Regions from separate parts of the Homo sapiens genome. Here region 2 is linked to region 1. Evidence: promoter capture Hi-C in 16 types of primary human blood cells and fetal thymus (Javierre and others, 2016). All regions are on one chromosome and are shown on one strand. The core of a region is centred on a gene start or on the middle of the fragment in contact, and the rest is flanking DNA. Distances in the headings are between cores, read along the strand shown. Region 1 holds the start of RPS6KA2-AS1 (RPS6KA2 antisense RNA 1). Region 2 overlaps LOC101929297 (a long non-coding RNA gene).

The links. Contacts are between HindIII fragments. The CHiCAGO score rates a contact against its expected background, and 5 or more counts as called.
Region 2: a fragment that was not itself captured here is called in contact with the fragment with the promoter of RPS6KA2-AS1 in region 1 in 1 of 17 cell types (endothelial precursors); the score reaches 5.4 in endothelial precursors.

What each region holds. Positions count from the first base shown.
Region 1 is chr6:166,901,810-166,905,167 of GRCh38, forward strand. It overlaps RPS6KA2-AS1 (RPS6KA2 antisense RNA 1), which reads left to right and starts at 1,889. Exons shown (of 2, transcript NR_046644.1): 1 at 1,889-1,979; 2 at 2,491-3,260. RefSeq lists enhancers at 1-473, 1,644-2,325, 2,326-3,006. The HindIII fragment of the contact is 22,454 bases long and covers 1-3,358 here.
Region 2 is chr6:166,246,286-166,249,186 of GRCh38, forward strand. The region is part of intron 2 of LOC101929297 (a long non-coding RNA gene); the gene reads left to right. Among named protein-coding and RNA genes, the nearest start is that of PRR18, 61 kb to the right of the region's middle. The HindIII fragment of the contact is 1,053 bases long and covers 860-1,912 here.

The sequences.
Region 1 (3,358 bases), core at 639-3,138:
ACACACGCGGGAAATAACGACGCGTGAACACACAGCAGGGAGAACGCCGCGTGAAAGCACAGGGGGGAGAACGCCGCGTGAATGCACACACGGGAAATAACGCCGTGTGAACACACAGCGGGGAGAACGCCGCGTGAACGCACACAGGGGAAATAACGCCGCGCGAACACACAGGGGGAAGAACGTCACAGGGACGCACAGTGGGGAAACGCCATGTGAACGCACAAAGAAAGAACGCCACGTGAACTCGCACACGCGGGGAGAACGCCGGGGAAACGCACACAGTAAAGAGAACGCAGTTTGAACGCACAGGGGAGAGAACGCCACGTGAACACACAGAAGGGAGAATGCAGTGCGAACACACAGAAGGGAGAACACCTGGTGAAGGCACAGAGGGGAGAACGCCGAGCGAACGCACAGGGTGGAGAATGCCATGTGAACGCACAAAGAAAGGAGAACCCCTGGTGAACGCACACAGGAGAAAGAATGCCGAGGAACGCACAGAGTAAAGAGACCGCCGTGGGAACACACAGGGGAGAGAACGCCACGTGAACACATGGGGAGAACGCCGCGGGAACACACAGAAGGGCGACCGCCTGGTGGATGCACAGAGGGGAGAACGCCAGGGGAACACACACAGGGGAGAACGCTGGGCGATCACACAGGGTGGAGAACGCCGGGTAAATACACACTGGGGAAAACGCTGTGCAATCGCATAGAGGGAAGAACGCCGGGTGAACACACAGGGTGCGTTCTTCCATCATGCGGCTGCGCCTGAGTCTCTGAGTCTACTCTGGCTTAGAAGGCTGCCTGATTCGCAAATTGTTTATTGCTCAATTACATGCTTTTAAATTTAATTCAGCTGAAGTGTTTCTTTTCTCACGGCCCACCCACTAGATGTGGCTCTGTCACTGGTGCTGGCCAGTGGGGCGTGGAGGGACCGGTGTCCTTCCCAGCACAGACACAAGGAAGCGGCTGTGCCTTCTCCACACTCTTCTCCCTGACTCTTGGCTACAGCTGTAAACCCAGGGTTAGATTCAGGGGCCTGTGACCTCCAATGGGAAAACAACTGCATTATTTGTACCTCATATTTAGTATTTCCATCAATTATGAGTGTAGGCAAAAAAGCACAGTAGCTTCAGCAGGACTGGTGTTTTGCTGGCAGTACAAAACATTTTCATATCCTATTCCTTGCTGTCTTGTGTTTTCTTTAATGTGTTAAAAAATCTTATTCTGAGACCATCAGGCCACTGGAAGGGGTTCATGGCACAAAAAAAGATGCAGCCCAGCAATAAGGTGAAAGAGAGATGACGGAGCCACTGGACACAAGAAGCCTTGCACCCTGAGTCACCCCGTGGAGCACTGACGAGCCTCGGCTCCTGATTCATTATGCGGAGTGCTGCCTAGTACCAGGAGCAACAGCACTGGACAGGGACATGAGTAAGAAATAAAACTTCCAGAGCGTGAAGCTAGTGAAATGATGGGATGTGTTTATCACAGGGCTAGCATCATCCTAACCAGCATGGAGACATGCGGGGCTGTGAACGGGAGCCTAGAGCTGCAAATTAGACAAGCCTGGGCCAGGAGACCTTTTGCAGGCTGCAAAGCTGCTCTCTCCTTTGCCTCCTCTGTACCTCAAAGGACCTGGGGTGGTGAAGGGAGTTGTGGGCCGACCTGAGTCAGCCTGAACAGGCTGTTCCTTCAGCAGATTCCTCAAGCTCTGCCCCGGCCCCTTCCTCGGCCCACCCCAGCTTGCCCTCCAAGGGGTATTATCACTGTGACCCTCGTCTCCTCCTCCTGTTCAGGCTTTGCCTTGGCAGCGCAGCAGTGCCCCTCTGCAAAGGGGTCTCGCATGCTGTTCAGCAGCTCTCTTCCCGCCACAGCGATGGGCAGCCGGATCCCAGCTGGAACTCCGCCACATCCCAGGAATGTGAATACCAGTGGAATCCGGATAGGACGGTGTGACCCAGGCACAGTGGGTGAGAACCGGAGCTTGGCTAGCAGGCAGGGGTTCAGCTGCTTCCTGACCTGTGCCCTGGCACCTCTGACCTGGCCGGAGCTTCTCAGGCAGTGACCACTGCTGAAACTTTGAGACCCCAACATGTGTGGGAGCATTTCTAAGCCTTCCTTGCATGGACACACTCCTCCCTAACGCTGTCCCATTTTCCAGACAGGGTCTCACCCACCCCGCACTGCTGCCCCCAGTGCTTTGATTCAGCCCCTCAGCTGTGAATGGAGTTGGTTCCTCATATGAGATCTCAATAAGACTATGGTGGGAGTCGGCGTAGAGCAGGGAAAGCCTGGACTTTCTGCCAGAAGGTCGGGGTGGGGCAGTGCAGGCCACGGCACCTCCCGGCTCTGTGCACAGGGTGGGCCACCCCAACCCGGCTCCTCACACTTCACGGCATGCAGCAGCCTCCTGGGCCCTGGGAACATGCAGACTCTGAGCAGCAAGACTGCGCAGGACCCGACATTTGCATTTCTAAACAGCTCCCAGGGGACGCCAATGCTGCGGGCTGAGGCCCACGCTGGAGGAACACCGGCCAGTGGGCAGCTTTGGGTGAACTTCAGAGTGGGTGGAAGCGCAGCTGCCCCGCCTGCCCCCACGGCTGCTGCGCGATCAGGAAACACAGCACACTCCTAAGTGAGTCGTCACCATGGTGACTTTTGGATTCCCACTGCCAGTTCCTGTGGAGTCAGAGAGATCTTAGCTCAGAAGTGCTGACAGCAGGGGCTGGCTGGCCACTGGCCACATGGGAAGAGGAGAAAGGCAGCAGGAGCCACCGTGAGGCAAATGAGCTACAAGACGCCGCTCCGTCTGATTTCCCGCCACAGCTCCCAACACAGGTGAAATGGCTCAGAACAGCTCAGCATGTCCTACTGAGGGGCAGGAAGGATGCTGAGAAAATCCCAGGCAGCGGTCTCAGCTGGGATGTAATTTGAGGGCGAAAAAGTTGTGTTGCTTGCGGTTTCTTCCTTGCTCCTTGCAGGTTATATTTGAAATGAATGTCAGAGCCATGCGGCCGCTGCCAACTAATTCCCAGCTAAGAAGGTAAACACCAGCATCACCTGGGTCTTCTGGTCTACCTGATTCTGCAGCTCAGAGGGAACCATGCAGCTGGCAAAAATGACAGCGAGGGCAGGACTATGACCCAATTAAAGGAATGTGAGTTAAAACATGGGGAGCCAAACACCCAAATTCCAGCCTGATCCTAACTGTATGTAGGCATTAAACCCTTATGCTGTCATTCCCACCACCGAGTAGAAAGTGTGGCACGTGGCTTTGTATCACTGTAAATATGATTCTATTTTACTGGCCTTCAGCCTCCCTCCTTTTGCTCACAGCCTTTACTGCAGC
Region 2 (2,901 bases), core at 136-2,635, 660 kb before region 1:
TGAGACGCTGCCTCAAAAAAAATTTAAAATAAAATTTCCCTCGTATTGAACTGAACTTTAACTTCTTTGTAAATTATTCCCATTGGCCTTATTTCTGGTCTCTGATGCTACCTAGAATAAATACGAAATATATTTATTGGAATATTTCTTGCCTTAGCTCAGGCTACTGTAACACAATTTCACATGCTGGATGGCTTAAACAACAGAAATTTATTTTCTCACAGCTCTGGAGGCTGGAAGTCCAAGATCAGGATGTCAGCATGGTTGAGTTCTGGCGAGGGCCTCCTCCTGGCTGGCAGACAGCAGAGAACATCAGTCCCCTGTAAGGCCTCCCTCATGATCTCATTGAACCTTGTCACTGCCCAAAGGTGACCTCCAAATACCACCACATTGAAGATTAGGTCTTCGACATAGAAATTTTGGGGATGAGAAGGACACAGTGCAGTCCACAGCAGAATAGTCAATAAAACATGAAATAAGTATAAAATCCACATGCAAACCCCAGGTATTTCAGGCTACTTACACCTCCCCTTGGACCTTTCTTTCCAGGCTCAGATACACCTGCTTTAGTCTTTACTATGGGACAGCTTCTAGAGCTTTACCATCCAGCTGAGCTTTCATTCTTAAAAAGGACTACATTTTTCATCCTTGTTTTGAAACCTTCATGAAATTCCGTAAGTTGTCCACCAAAATCTATCCCATTCTTGCTAGCACTAAATACTTTTATAGCTATGTATATACCTATGGACAAATAAACTGATTTCAGTTCTTTGAATACAGAGGGGTAACCAAAAACCACACCAAAAATGCTTTAAAGTCTTTGATTTTTACAGAGATAATAAAGATGATTTCTTTCAAAAGCTTCGTATTTCTAACACTATTGGAGAAAACCACCTTTCCTAGCTTAATATGTAAGATTTATTTTGATTCAAAAGTGTTAACTGGAACTTCTGCCTCTAAAGTCACGACAGCATTTTGTCTTCTCTCTAGAGAACGCTGCACATTTGTAAATGAAACTTTCAGCCATGTTCAACCATCGGACAGACTGGCCCCCCCCAAATACCACCCTGTCTAGCAAATTGAGACTGTCACACCACATTCTTATTTTTTATTTTTTATTTTTGACGGAGTCTCACTCTGTCGCCCAGGCTGGAGTGCAGTGGAGCCATCTCCGCTCACTGCAAGCTCCGCCTCCCGGGTTCATGCCATTCTCTTGCGTCAGCCTCCCGAGTAGCTGGGACTACAGGCGCCCGCCACCATGCCCGGCTAATTTTTTGTATTTTTTAAGTAGAGACGGGGTTTCACCGTGTTAGCCAGGATGGTCTCAATCTCCTGACCTCGTGATCCTCCCACCTCGTCCTCCCAAAGTGCTGGGATTACAGGCGTGAGCCACCGCGCCCGGACCACATTCTCTTCTAAGGCAGGAATCATGCCTATCTTTTTGTACATCTTTGAAATGAAACTATGTGGATGATGCAAAATATTACTTTGCATGCAATTAGAATTTTTAAATGCCGGTTACACCAATCACTTTACTGAATGAATATTTTAATGCTAAGTGATGAAAAAGATGGAAACACAGTAGACATACAAAAATATTCCCTAAGAGAAATGAAAATATAATGTTAGATAACGCATTTGTCATCTATACGAGAAATCTCATCTGCTTTTCCTGGGGGAGCCCACTGTCCTTATCAGTGTGTACCACGGGCCTGGTTTCCTTCTCCTAGGAGCAGCCAAAAGCCAGGGTCCAGGATTAGACATTGCAAAGAGATATTTTAGCACCATCAAGAAGGCCGATTTGCTCATGTGGTAGTAGAACATTGCATTTGATATTATAAATTTTCATTAGCCTGTAAATAAAAAAGAATATAAATTCACAATGAGATATACTGCTTAATATTAAGGATAAAGCTTTAATAGTTAAACAATAAATTCTTCCTTTGGTGTAAAACTAGAAATGTATAGTCCTTTCAACTATGCAAGATTTATTTTGATATTTCAATATTCAATAACATTTTTATATGCATATATATAAAGATATACATCTGGAAAACTCTTTAAATTTATCATCATGTAAAAAATTTTATTGATGTGTTATTCATTCTTAGAATTCTAGAGAAAATTAACTTTTTTATGTTGATAAAGACATAAAGACATGTTTTTATATACAATTTATACATTCCATAATTATAGTAAATAATATTTGTAGACACCTATTTAGATCAAAATCCAGTATTTTCTAGAAAATGGTACCATTGTCCTTTTGTGAATATTTATGGACAGGTTGCTCTCTCTCCATGCTAAGATTCCTTCCTAAGTCTAGTCCCATGACTATAGCAGACCTTTAATTACCAAATGCCCATTGAGATGTCCAGTTGCAATCAGGACGCCTTCTTCACACAAGTCTTCTTTTTTTTTTTTTGAGACGGAGTCTCGCTCTGTCGCCCAGGCTGGAGTGCAGTGGCACGATCTCGGCTCACTGCAAGCTCCGCCTCCCGGGGTCATGCCATTCTCCTGCCTCCCGAGTAGCTGGGACTACAGGCGCCCGCCATGACGCCTGGCTAATTTTTTGTATTTTTTTGTAGAGACAGGGTTTCACCGTGTTAGCCAGGATGGTCTCGATCTCCTGACCTCGTGATCCGCCCGCCTTGGCCTCCCAAAGTGCTGGGATTACAGGCGTGAGCCACCGTGCCCGGCCTTCACGCGGGTCTTCCATAAAACATAAAACAATTCCTAATGGCTGAGAGCAATATGTTAAAGACAAATACACTTCTAAACTCACAACAGAATTTTCTTTTTTACCTTCACTGATACAGGATTTCAGTAGTGAGAAAAGTTTTTTGTTCGCTGCCTTCTGTTTCTAATTTAAAACCTTTGTTCCGAGGTCCTAGCTTTCTG